Regions from separate parts of the Homo sapiens genome. Here all the other regions are linked to region 1. Evidence: promoter capture Hi-C in 16 types of primary human blood cells and fetal thymus (Javierre and others, 2016). All regions are on one chromosome and are shown on one strand. Each heading gives the region's core, a stretch centred on a gene start or on the middle of the fragment in contact. The rest is flanking DNA. Distances are from core to core; before and after follow the strand shown. Region 1 holds the start of RIPK2 (receptor interacting serine/threonine kinase 2). Region 2 overlaps TMEM64 (transmembrane protein 64). Region 3 has its middle 6.3 kb from the start of LINC01030. Region 4 overlaps LINC01030 (long intergenic non-protein coding RNA 1030). Region 5 has its middle 27 kb from the start of LINC01030.

Region 1 (2,595 bases), core at 1-2,500:
AGATCGCGCCACTACACTCCAGCCTGGGTGACAGAGCACGACTCCCTCTCGAAAAGAAAAAAAAAAGCTTATTAAGCAATAAAGCACAGAGTATCAGACCATATGTTTAGTGCTGAACATTTTATTATAAATGATCAAAAATGTTTAACATACTATTGTTTACAACCTCCCACTACTGTAAAATCTAACATTGCTACTTTCATTTCAGGTAATGCAAAAATACAAGAAGCATTAGCTGTCTGTAGGCAGAAATCTGTTCGAGTCATTCCTTATTACTGAATCCCTAGAATTAATTAAACATCTAGTATGGAGTTGGTATTGTATATAACATTTGCACTCACGTCTTACAAAATAGTCATCTAAGTAGAAAGGTATTCAAGGCAGAAGGATGGAAAAACGTTTGCAGTCTTTTTTGGTTGGCATGAAACACTGACTGCATTCCTCCCAGATTTATAAGAAAGAAATATTTGCAGTCTTACCTGGAGTTAGATGGATGGACTCTCTCAAGGTTATTTTTCAATCTCTGCACATACATACTTATGGAAGTAAGAAAGAAGAGGGAGAAAAGGCAGATCCCCCATAACAGCGGTTAAACACCTGAACTTGCTCCACTATGACAGGGTTTATCATCCACCTCTCAGTCCTCAAGTGGCTGGAAATATGGAAATTGGAGTCCAGGTAGACAGGTGAGTGTACAACCTCTTAAGTGTGGAGCCCTCGGAATTCACAACACTCCCCAAATCGCTTCCTGCGCAGGCGCGGAGTCGGAAGGGAGTCGGAAAGCAGACCCCGGTGCCCCCTAATAAAGCCCCCAGCCGGACGCTGCCGCTACCGGGGTTTGGCAACTTCCGGAAGACCTGTGGCCCAAAGGAGAATCCTGTTGGGGGAGGCGGGGGCCGGTGGTCGCTAACCAATCCGACACCCGCCAGCAGGCTGAAGAGAGGGGCTTTCCCAAAAGGAAAACTTTCCCAAACCTGGGGGATGGGAAGAGAAGACAAAAGGAGCTCCCTTTCCCACTTCCCAGCCGCCCGTCCCAGCCCTCGGCCTCCGCTGCGCGACCCGGGCGGAGGATCCCGGCCGCAGGCCGAGGCGAGAGCCAGGCGGGAGGGCCGCGAGCGGGCTGCCCCTCTCCCCGCCTTGCCGTCCGCCGCTGACGTAACCTGCGAAGTTTGGGGAGGGAGGAGCTCGGGCGGCCGGAGCTGGTCGCTGCGCGCGCCGGGGGGAGGGCCGGGGCTGCGAGAGAGGAAGCTCTTTCGCGGCGCTACGGCGTTGGCACCAGTCTCTAGAAAAGAAGTCAGCTCTGGTTCGGAGAAGCAGCGGCTGGCGTGGGCCATCCGGGGAATGGGCGCCCTCGTGACCTAGTGTTGCGGGGCAAAAAGGGTCTTGCCGGCCTCGCTCGTGCAGGGGCGTATCTGGGCGCCTGAGCGCGGCGTGGGAGCCTTGGGAGCCGCCGCAGCAGGGGGCACACCCGGAACCGGCCTGAGCGCCCGGGACCATGAACGGGGAGGCCATCTGCAGCGCCCTGCCCACCATTCCCTACCACAAACTCGCCGACCTGCGCTACCTGAGCCGCGGCGCCTCTGGCACTGTGTCGTCCGCCCGCCACGCAGACTGGCGCGTCCAGGTGGCCGTGAAGCACCTGCACATCCACACTCCGCTGCTCGACAGGTAGGCAGTCACTGGGGTTCCCTGGAAGAGCCCTCAACTCCTGCATCCCCTCAAGCCCCCTGACAAGCGGGCTCTAGAGCCCAAATGGCAGTGACCGCTTGGGGCCGGCCTCACCTCGTCACCTCTAGGGAGCCCTTCAAGCTTGGGAGATAGGGAGCACCCACCCTTCAAGCTCTGGCACCGTAGGGAGCACAGGCTTCTCTGGAGATGCAGCAGTTGCATTCCTCCACACATCTCTCCATTACCCTTTCTCTCCTTCCCTCTTACTCCTAGGCGTTCTGGCTCCGTACTCCAAAAATCAGCAATCACTGCCTAACTCTAAACGCTGGGTTTACTGAAATTGATGTGTGTTTATATATAGTGGGTGTGGGTTTTGTTTGCTTTGTTTTTTCCTTATTTTTGAAATTGGGCTGTAGGGCTGCACTGTCCAGTAGGTAGCTCTTAGCCACAGGTGGCTATTGAGCACTTGAAATGTGCCCGTCCGAATTGAAGTGTGACCTAAGTGTAAAATACCAGAGTTCGAATGCTTAGTATTTATTAAAAAAAGAACTTATAATATTTTATTATTTGTTTATTGATTATATGCTGAAATAACATTTTTGATATCTTGGGTTAAATATAAGATTAAAATTCATTTTATGTGTTTCTTTTTACTTTATGTGGCCACGAGAAAATTTTAAATTGTATGTGGTGGTGTTCACATTATATGTTTATTGGACCGCACTGCTTTAGAATCAAGGATGTTTTGCTTCTTATTGTTTTTATTTTGGTTTTGGTTTATTATGTGTTGTCAGGAACGTTTTATATCAAACTCAATACTAGCAGTTCAGTTTCTCCCAGTCTCAGTTTCTCTCACAGGGAAGATTAAGTAGAGGAAATGTGTGCTATTTTTGCCACAATAAATTGAACCAAAAGACTGTTAAATGG
Region 2 (2,595 bases), core at 61-2,560, 870 kb after region 1:
AGTACCCATCACTCAGTAAAATCGTAAATAAGTTAGGCATCTTAAAGCTGGGTCTTTAAATTCTGTAACTGTTTTCTGTTACTTCTCTTAAAAGAAACAAGATATATTTACCGAAAACTCCTAAGTTTGCTATGTATCAACAAATGGAAACACCATGTAAAGAGATGAAAAAAATATGGGGGCGGGGGCGGGTGCTTTGTGAATTAGATGCTACCTTCTGTTTAAGACATGCTGAATTCGAGGTGCCTCTTAGATATCCAAAAAAGTTCATGGATGTCAGTGAAGGGGTCTGAAGCTATGGAAAGAGGGCTGAGCTAAAGACAAGTGCTGGGGAGTAGGATGAGGGCAGGCGGAGGGTCTTGACCCAAATACACATATTAGCAACCATCAGAGTAACTGGATTTGCTGTAAAAAAGTTTTCAGAGTAGGACTAGAAAACTTAAGCTAGGATCTTCAAAAACACAGATATAAGGGGTGAAAGGAAGAAGTTAAGCATAAGCTAGGCAAGTGGAAAAAAAAAGTTAAGACAGTGGTATCAAAGAAACTAAGGAAAGAGTGTTTTAATAATGAAGGCACTGTCAGGAGTCTTAGACTACTAACAGGTCAAGCTAGATGAGAAATGGAAAGTACATCTCATTTAGACAAGCTTACTGACAGCCCTAAGAAGAGCAGTTTGAGGGAAGGAAGTGGCAGGGCCACAGATAGCAAGGGTGAAATGGTTACATCTTTAAGTGGGACTTTCCCAGCTGCACTTCTGATCCCAGGGCCTGACGATTTGTACTGTCCCCCAACACACCTTCCCCATCTTCCTTAGCTGAGTGAAGTGTTAAAAAGGGTTTAGAAAATGGAAATAGATAGTACAGACAATTGTTTTAAAAGTTTCCTTATTAAAATGAAATCAAAGAATCAAACACAGGCAGAAGGTCAAGCCTCATACAGAAAGACAGGCATCTCTTAATGCTAACTGGAAAGCAAGCTAAGCAGGGGCAGGAACATAAGAAGTTAACAGATTTCTTATATGCAAATTCAGGGGTTTCTCAGTTGAAGGCTTCTGATTTTTCTGTTAAGCAAGAGAGGTAATCTGCTGACAATAAAGATGGAAACAGGCGAAGGAGTCAAAATTGTGAGGAGAAGTGAAGATAGTTTAAAATAATTAACTATTTCAAGACAACAGCAGGGGAGTGAGAAGACAAAGGAGAGAGATGGGATGTGGGGCAGTGTCGAGAAACTAGGTGAAGATTTGCAACCATGAGTTAAATATCAATGTGTCTGGTTACATGACTTCCCCAAAAGAATAGGGGCAAAGCAGATAAAACTTGGATGTATTCAGGTTTGGGGTTTTGGTTAGTAGATACATAGAAAAATAACAGGCATGGAAGAGTAACTAAATAGACCACAGAATCTAAGCTGGATTTCAGTACAGTTTGAGCATTCCTAACCCAGAAATTCCAAACCTCAAAGGCTCCAACCCGAAGTTTTTGAGCACTAACAAGACACTCAAAGAAAATGCTCATTCGAACACTTTAGATTCCAGACATTTGGATTAGGGATACTCAACAGGTAAGCACAATGTAAATATACTGAAATCTGAGGAAATTCAAAATCTAAAACATTTCTGGCTGCAAGCATTTCAGATAAGGGATAATCAAACTGTACAAGAAATGGTTGTGGCTTCCTATGAACAGTTATTTTGTATTGCTTTATTTTAGGCTGACAGCCATAAAACTCAGAGGCAAATTTGTGGCTCGTTTCTAGAAAATAAGAGGAATCTCATGAATATACTTATTCTGCTAGCTTTAACCTAAGCTCTCTTTTTTTCCTTTTGTATATATTTTGTAAGCTGCATTAAATGCCTCCTGATACAAATTAAGCTGTAACTAATATCAATTAAATCAAACAAGCGTAAACATGTCTTCACTTCTTTTCATAAATCCCTAGGCTAAGAAATATGTGCTTTCCCCACTGTCTTGTATTCTAAGCTTAAATTTTCCAGCTTAGCCAAAGGGTGAGAAATCACTGAATAAAAGAAGATTCTATAGTTTAAAAAGCATCATGAACTTCATTGACTATAGTTGAGTAATTTACTAAGATGCATAAAAATATAAAGTTTCAAATAGTAAAAGTTCTCTCTAAGCTACTAACAATGAGGGATTCTAATTACTCAAATGTAAAGTCAAAGGGAAAAAAATGTTACAAATAGATTACTTATTTTCAGGAAACTACAAAAAAAATGCTTAACTTCATACTAAAAAAATCTGAGAATGCAATACATATTAGATAATTTTACAGTTCTTTGGGACAATCATAAATGTTAATTTATATACTGTGCTATAGATATAATGCATAGAAAGTTTAACTTTATATGATTAGCATGCTGTATTATATAAATAAACCAACTGTAACAAAAACATTTAACTTAGATTCAGATTATCTGAAGAAAATATAGCTCTGGGGAAAAAAAGTAAAGAAAAATAAAAACTGACTCTTTGCATGTCAAAAATATTACAAAATTTTTCTTAAAGCAAGTACTCTTATTGATAAGCTTTATTTAGGCAATATTTCAATGTAAATATTCATGGTTTTACTTTATGTACT
Region 3 (2,595 bases), core at 33-2,532, 850 kb after region 1:
AGCTCACTTGCCATCTCTTTGGAGACACCTCATGTGTCTGTGGTTAAGTCATAGCCTGAGTTAAGGATTATTAATTTTATGTGGGAGGTTACCTTTGGTAAAAAATTCAAAAGCTGAAAATATCCACTGTTTGTTCCTGCTGAAATCTGGTAATAAGAAATTTTTTTAAAGGATTTTTTTTGAAAGTTCTGTAGTTAAAATTGATTTAATTTGGACTATATGGGTACAGATATTGTTTTAAGGCTCTTGCTCTCCCTCTGTAAAAACTACTCAGTCAACTGAATTCTGTTTCTCATTTACTCCTGTTTGTCCCTCCTTCCACTGTATCTAATCTCTGACTTTTGGGGGCACCAGGATTAATTTGCATTATGAGAAAATTTAACCTTAATGTATAATAGCTAGATAAGAGATATACTTTTTTAAATGGCTGATGTCAGTTGCTTACAGTGAACGATGATCACCACAGGGTTGTACGTCTTTCTTTCTATGTTGAAATAAGGAAAGCATGCTTGTAAACACCTAGAAGGTACAGAATGGAAGATGGGGTGATTATAGCGTAGGCTGATTGGCATTGGGTTGCCAAGCGGCCTAGGAGAAATGTCCTTTCAATGAGATACACTGTGGAATGATTGCACTGTCTTGTCTTATAGTATTTCCCTCTTTTGGAGACCCCAGGATTTGGTGTAAAAATGAGATCCTTGATCTTGGGGATCTGTTTTGCCTTCCAGCTGTGCCTGCTTATTGGACCCTAAAAACTGCATGCTTTCCTGACCCTGTTCCCTAAAAGACTCCAACCTGAAGCCAATAATCCAATCAAGAAACAGATCTTTAAAAAGTCTCTCTGTGTAAGGTGGAGGTTGCAGTGAGCTGAGATCACGCCATTGCACTCCAGCCTGGGCAACAGAGCAAGACTCCGTCTCAAAAAAAAAAAAAAAAAAAAATCTCCCCGTGTAAGCGTGTCTGTTTTTCCTGGTCATCTTGACTAAACTTTTATCCACACCATTTTCCCTTGGTTTAAATAAAATATAAGTTCTTTATTTTGTTTCACCTAAAAATTATCCATTTAAAAACACAAATTTAGAATTGCCTGGCTGACAATTATTTAGATCAGAGAACAGATAATCAAGAGACTAATGGTCTGAGGTCAAAAAGGAAAACTTAAAAACTGACAAAGAATCTTATCACAGTTAGCCAGGCAGGGTGGTGTGCACCTGTAGTCCCAGCTACTTGGGAGGCTGAGGTGGGAGGATTGCTTGAGCTCAGAAGGTCAAGGCTGCAGTGAGCCATGATTATGTTAGTGCACTCTAGCCTGGACAACAGAGACACTGTCTTAATTAATAATAATAATAATAACAATCATCATCATCATCATCTTATCCCCCCACCAGATCTGCTTCTGTCTATTTATATATGCTGGGAACATATTTTGTTACCAAAATACATAAAAGAACTGTAATTAATTGGCTTTAACAAAATTCTGTATATAAGCAAGTTGGCCAAAATTAAAAGGATATTACTTAGTTCTTCCATAAATTAAAATATTAAAATAAGAGTACACTGATGCAGGGCCAGAATCTAGGTCCATCTGTCTAAATAACAGAGTTTCCTTAGAACACTGATATTCCCTTTAATAAAAAATTAGAAAGGATTATAAAAATAGACATAAAAATTATACCTCATAGTCAAACTAATTAAAATTGGACAGATTTATTTACAAAATATTAAAAATTGAGTATAACATTAAGAATACACTAATGCAAAATTAAAATTTGGCTTTCTCTTTTAAATAAGATTTTCATAACATTGAGAAATAAAAAAAATTTATTTGTCATTTAAATACAGGGGAGAGAGAAAAGACAGTTTCAGTTGGCTTCATGCTATCTGTATTGGTCTTAACAAGTTGAGACTCCTCTCTATTAACAAGTAAAGATTTTTGCCTTTTTGAAATTTTAAATTATTATTTTGGCTAAATAAATGACTTACAATGACCTAGAATTCTATTTTGTGATATCAAGTGTTAAACGTTAGATATTTGACAAACATTCCAAAATCAAATTCTGACTTAAGTATATTTTTGACCTCATTAACTTTTAAGTATTAGGTCCCCTGAAGTCCAAAAGAGACGTATTTGACTTATTTGGTATACTAAAATCATACAGAGAGCATTGTCAAATATAAAATGGTATTCAACTTTTTTTTGGCTGCAGTCAATAAATGTGTTATTAATATGTGTTCCAACATTATATACTTTTCCTATAATTCTGATATGACTGAGTATATGTTATAAATAATAATAATTACTATATGGTTATGTGCCATAAAAATGACCAGGTTTCCTTTTCAGTTGCATCTTTAACTGTGGCTGTCCTGACTTTTGTCTTCCACAGATAACTGTCTTGTTTTGATCCTTTTCAAAAGGCGGTTTATAAGCAGCTATAAGATGCTAATGGGTGCTCTTGGATGCAGGTGTCTGATAATTGTAGAGACTGTGCCATTAAAATGAAAAAGAAAAAAAAATTAACTTCCAGGACTGTCATAGAGAGCTAGTGTGTTCATGAGGACTGCTGGTCCAATACTGGGCAAAACAGGAATTGC
Region 4 (2,595 bases), core at 32-2,531, 840 kb after region 1:
AAGACTGCTTTTCTCCTAGGAACATTATGCCTGTAATTAGTAGATATTATCACGAAGATGATAGAATTTAAGTTTATGGATTGGGACCCATGCAGTACAGAAAGCCCGGCAACCAATGACTAACCAGTCCGGATTCACTCAGCCTTTGCTACCAAAAAAAATCTTAGTAAGCTAGACACAAAAGGACAAATATTGTATGATTCCATTTACATGAGGTACTTAGAATAGGCAAATTCACAGAGACAGAGTTAGTATAGTGATTACCAGGGTACAGGGAAGAGAGAAATAAAGATTTGTTTAACGAGTATATGGTTTCAATTTGGGATGCAAAAATGTTCTGAAGATGGATGATCGTGATGATGGTACAACAATGTAAATGTACTTACTGTCTCTTAGCCGTACATTTAAAATAGTTAAAATTGTAAGTTTCATGTTATGTATATTTTCCCAAAATAAAAAATTTTTAAGCAATAACACCACCAATAGTATTCACTAGCCTTGAATGCCCTGCTATATGATATGCTAAGTGCTTTTCATGAATTTTGTTATTTAACCCCTAAGTTAAGCACTGCAGAGAACATGATACAAAAGCTTAAGTTACCTGCTTAAGCTTTACACAGGTAGAAAATGGCAGAGTAGGCTTTGGACCTAAGTTTATTTGCAAAGCCCACACTATATCATTATCATTATATGTTTAGGACTTTATAGAACTTTTTAAAGTTTAGGTGAAACTCTCATTTTTATTTTTTCATATCAAATGAAGAACAATGTTTAAATAAATAAAATCACCAAGCCTCAATGTTCTAATGCCAACAAGTGGCCTTACTGTCAGCTGATCTTTTTCTCTTCTTAAACTCTCCTTCATCTGTGGAACCTCAAACATACAACAAAGGCAATTCCAGGCCTAGCATCCTTTTCTCTGATAGTCAGTTGTAATTCTGACAATAAGAGGGAAGAAGAGAAAAGCGAATTCACTCCATTTCCCTAGCTGTCCTCCACTATTGGTTTCAGATCATGCTGCCACTTATGAGCACCTGATTGCCTCTTTTTCAACCTGGGCCAGTTCACTCCTCCTTAGACAATCTTATGGGACTCTGCTCCCAGAAAATCACCATATTGATGCCAACCTTAATGTGGACCCCGGATTGGCATAGCACACTACAGCCAAGAACTTCTGGCTTAAGCCATCCTCTCACCTCCACTTCCTGAGGGCCTCTTATATGATTTCTAGAATGGACTTCTGTTAAGTTTGTTTTTGCCCCATATCACACCCTGCTTCACAAACTCACTTCTTCTCCCATGGGTAGTCCCACCAGGGGCTCTACCTCCTTGACAGGCAAGTGACCCCAAGAGACAGAATCATTTTGAAGAAGTAGATGTTGATCTGCTGCCACTTAGAGAGAGCTTGCTTGAAAAGAAGCCAGTACCTAGATCACCAGAGCTGAGAGATGCAGAGAGTCCTGCTGACATTGTCTAAGAATGTCTGACCTTTATTCCAGGAATGGTTGGCACAAAATGGGTGTCCAATTATATTTTATTTGAAATAACATTTCATCAGACCACTTTATCAGAACTCCAAGATCTTGATTTCTGAAATGAGGCCTTAAGTACAATCTTTTCTCATTTCATTTCTTCCGTTTATTTATTCAATGAATATTTTATATCACTGAATTTTGTTCTTATGACACAAGAACATAAACAGATAAGTATGATATTCTGGTAAATGCAGTGTCAGAAACATAGAGTATTACGGGAGCACAAAGGAAGCACCTCAACCCCTGTGGGAGGAGCACTGCAGGCTGAGGATGGAAGGTGCAGGCCCCAGTAGGGTTGTGCTTGGTGGTTTAGGAACACCAAGGAGGCCAGCTGGCCTGTCTCCTTCGCTGCCCAACTTTTGACTTTCTCCTCCTGTTAAGGTGGTTAACCAGGTAATGTGATGAGGCCTATTTTTATCAAGCTTATCTTTATCCTTTCTTCCTTGTAGGTCTCTTTCACCCTTCCTGCTATGAGTACCTATGAGTAGAGTACCCTAACTCTAAACCTCCAGTCCTAATCTCCGCACACGACTCCAAGCAAGAATTTCCGATTGCTTTCATTAACTCTCCTCTTGGGTCTCTCCCTAGTTTCTCCAGATCTCCATGCTCCCCAATGAATTCAACATCCTCTCCACCTCACAGCACATCCATTCACCTCGTCTTCCTGGTAATATTTTCCCTGATAATGGCCCACTTTATTAGGTCTATGAGGTTTACAAGCTCTGAGTCACCTTCTTTGCTTCCCCCTGCCTTGTATTTCATATGTCATCGGGTATTCAGACCAGATCACCAATAGTCAAAGCTCCCTAAACAGTCCCTAGCAAGTCACTAAACTAGATCAGATGTATGTAAGTGGACATTCTCTGGCTATTGCAATCAAGAGGAAATGAATTTTTCCTCTTTGATTTATCTGCAACATGTTTTATCTTTACCTGGAAACTTCTATTGAGAAGACATCTGGAAAACCACAAACCACACACTTTCAGATGAGCTTCCATGATTAATGCATTGTGAAAAAAAAAATCATTTTAAACACAATGAAAACATTTGAGTGTAAGTG
Region 5 (2,595 bases), core at 47-2,546, 820 kb after region 1:
TTAATAGACTCACAGTTCCACATGGCTGGGGAGGCCTCACAATCATGGTGGAAGGCAAATGAGGAGCAAAGTCACATCTTACATGGCAGCAGGCAAGAGAGCTTGTGCAGGGAACTCTCATTTATAAACCCATTAGATCTCATAAGACTTATTCACTACCATGAGAACAGAATAGGGGAAACCACTCCCATGATTCAATTATCTCCTACCTGGCCCTGCCCTTGACACGTGGGGATCATTATAATTCAAGGTGAGATTTGGATAGGGGCACAGTCCAATCACATCAGCAACATAGTAAGACCTTGTCTCTACTAAAAATAAAGCAAAAAAACCTAGCTGGGTGTAGTGATGTGTGCGCCTGTAGGCCCAGCTACTGATTAATCTGAAGTGGAAAGATTGCTAGAGCCCAGGAGTTAAAGGTCACAGTGAGCTATGATTGTACCGTTACACTCCAGCCTGTGTGACAGAGTGATTCCCTGTCCCCATCTCTAAAAAAGCAAAGAAAAACAGAAAAGAACAAAAAAAAGGCTTACTACAGTATTTGTTTGAAGTTTCTCATTTACCTTAAAAATTTAACAAACCTGATTTTCATCCTATCCTTCTATATTAAAATGATTTTTAAAATATTGATCTAAGCAATTGCAATTTCACTGCAAATGTTCCAAGTAAAATTGACACTAGAGGAAGATGTGTTATGTTCCATGGTCACATGTATCCTAGGCACAAGGTCCACAGACCCAAGGGTGTGGAAACCTGGATTTGGACACTATGGCCTAACGGATTGTTTTATTACAGACTTGTGATATGCAGCCTCACCCTGGCTCTCATTCTGATCCACAACATTTTCATTCATTAAATATTGACTTTCTGCCATATTATTCACAAATACTGTATTGAAATTTCCCCTCTTCAAATTCGAACCTCATTTGTATTTTCCTCACTGAAATAGATACCCTCTGAAATCCCTCAACTCTCATTTCAAAAGCTAGCAAATCAACACTTAATCCCACCTTTTCCCTTTCTCTTCTAATTCCATGACTGTACCCCTCCTCTGTCACAAATTTAACCTTCCTTGAGCCCTCCTGCCTCATCTGAACTTGTGTCTCTGTCCCCCTCTTTTCTTTGTATTTTTAGTTTCTTCTCAGAATTGAACCCTTCTTTCTAGCCAGTGCTCCCTGTAACCTAGCTAAGCTTACCCAAATACTCGACCTGCTAGCCAAGCATCTTGTCTTTTACTTCTTAGTATTCCTAGATTTCCACTGAGACTTGAAGTGTGTACACAATGAATTATGAAAAGGACTCACCACCCACGGAGAGCAGGCAACTTCAAGTTTAGCTCTACAGTCAGTAACTGCTTTTCAACTTGCACCATAAAAACAACACCCAAATGTATACGAACTCTAAAGCTTTAACTGATAGCAGGTTCAAATATGGACAAAATTCCATTTGTCCCAAATGTCTTTATTAGGAAGTTTGAGGCAACAGCAAATCTTCACATAAACATTATTGAAGAAAAAATTTTCAATCATTAATTTCTGCATTCCAACAAATAACTCCTAGTCAAATTGGAAAACTGATGTTCTTAAACTAGGATCACTTGCCACAAAGAACAAAGTGGCATCTTGCAACAAGTCATTTTAAATAAGGCTGGAAGACATCTTTGTGTTTCCTTTTTCAGAGTGTATTCATCAGTAAGGTACTAGCCTAAGATAAACCAGCACCATGGAGCCCTGAGATCACCATGGCTAAGTGGAAGGTGGTTTTGAGGTACTTTTGGCTAAGTACCAGGTAGGACTCAGAAATCTGAGCAGCAGCAGAACTGGGTCAAAGCCTAAGAACCTCTCTAAAATATCCACTTGCTGATCTGCTATCATTAACTACACTCTCCTGAGAATGAAATCTGAAAAGGAAAGTAGCTGAATCCAAAGGTCTTTTGTGAAGTCTAATTGGAATAGAGGTTTTGAATATAAATTCCTAAAAGACACAAGAAGGTATGATGGGGGATAGCGGGGGAGCAGGGATAACATTCCAACTGGTTTACATAATAAAAACCAAAGAGACTGGTAATTAGTATGCACATTTATTTGACATTCTTTGATAACCTTTCCTCTGCTTCACTTTTGCGAAGGGCTATTCAGCATTTTCCCAGACTTACAATTTGGCCCAGATGCTAGAAATAAGCAGCTAATAGAGACCTGGTGTACAGAAGAGAGTAATAGGAAATGCACACAAGTAGATAAATTTGTGGTCTGCAGCCTGAGCCTCAGCACTAAGAGGTCAGTGGGTTATTCTCAAGGACACTCAAGAACTCCCCCTGCCGTTTCTTGCAAACGTAGGACACCCACTGCATTATGTCAACTGAGGAAAGAATATTAAAAGACAAAGTTTGTGACCCATGTTAACTCACACATTTCCTCAAAAGAAGAGTTGTGTATTATTTTAAGATCCATTACTGGGCTGCCAGTGACAATTACTCAGCCACTTATTAGTAAAACTGAGTGAAATGCTGTGAAGGAGTTATTATTTCCTGAAATTGTCTTGATGAAAAAGAAAAAAATGATAACATTTCAGATATCTTAGCCTCATTCTATTTAA

Evidence for each region. The method cuts DNA at HindIII sites, captures the fragments that hold promoters and counts their contacts. A CHiCAGO score of 5 or more calls a contact.
Region 2: a fragment that was not itself captured here is called in contact with the fragment with the promoter of RIPK2 in region 1 in 8 of 17 cell types (total B cells, naive B cells, activated CD4 T cells and 5 more); the score reaches 24.3 in total B cells.
Region 3: a contact is called between a fragment that was not itself captured here and the fragment with the promoter of RIPK2 in region 1, in 1 of 17 cell types (total B cells). The highest score is 6.3, in total B cells.
Region 4: a fragment that was not itself captured here is called in contact with the fragment with the promoter of RIPK2 in region 1 in 2 of 17 cell types (activated CD4 T cells and erythroblasts); the score reaches 6.0 in activated CD4 T cells.
Region 5: a contact is called between a fragment that was not itself captured here and the fragment with the promoter of RIPK2 in region 1, in 5 of 17 cell types (erythroblasts, naive B cells, total CD8 T cells and 2 more). The highest score is 7.7, in erythroblasts.

Annotation. Positions count from the first base shown.
Region 1 is chr8:89,756,566-89,759,160 of GRCh38, forward strand. It overlaps RIPK2 (receptor interacting serine/threonine kinase 2), which reads left to right and starts at 1,251. Exons shown (of 11, transcript NM_003821.6): 1 at 1,251-1,668. The coding sequence starts at 1,496. PARAIL (palmitic acid regulated anti-inflammatory lncRNA) reads right to left here and starts at 1,146. Exons shown (of 5, transcript NR_125822.1): 1 at 480-1,146. RefSeq lists a silencer at 997-1,116 and an enhancer at 1,657-1,726. The HindIII fragment of the contact is 1,742 bases long and covers 66-1,807 here.
Region 2 is chr8:90,627,289-90,629,883 of GRCh38, forward strand. All of the region lies in intron 2 of TMEM64 (transmembrane protein 64), which reads right to left. Among named protein-coding and RNA genes, the nearest start is that of TMEM64, 17 kb to the right of the region's middle. The HindIII fragment of the contact is 1,333 bases long and covers 645-1,977 here.
Region 3 is chr8:90,611,078-90,613,672 of GRCh38, forward strand. No RefSeq gene overlaps it. Among named protein-coding and RNA genes, the nearest start is that of LINC01030, 6.3 kb to the left of the region's middle. The HindIII fragment of the contact is 3,080 bases long and covers 1-2,595 here.
Region 4 is chr8:90,594,950-90,597,544 of GRCh38, forward strand. The region is part of intron 1 of LINC01030 (long intergenic non-protein coding RNA 1030); the gene reads right to left. Among named protein-coding and RNA genes, the nearest start is that of LINC01030, 9.8 kb to the right of the region's middle. The HindIII fragment of the contact is 1,347 bases long and covers 609-1,955 here.
Region 5 is chr8:90,577,611-90,580,205 of GRCh38, forward strand. No RefSeq gene overlaps it. Among named protein-coding and RNA genes, the nearest start is that of LINC01030, 27 kb to the right of the region's middle. RefSeq lists an enhancer at 1,772-2,595. The HindIII fragment of the contact is 215 bases long and covers 1,190-1,404 here.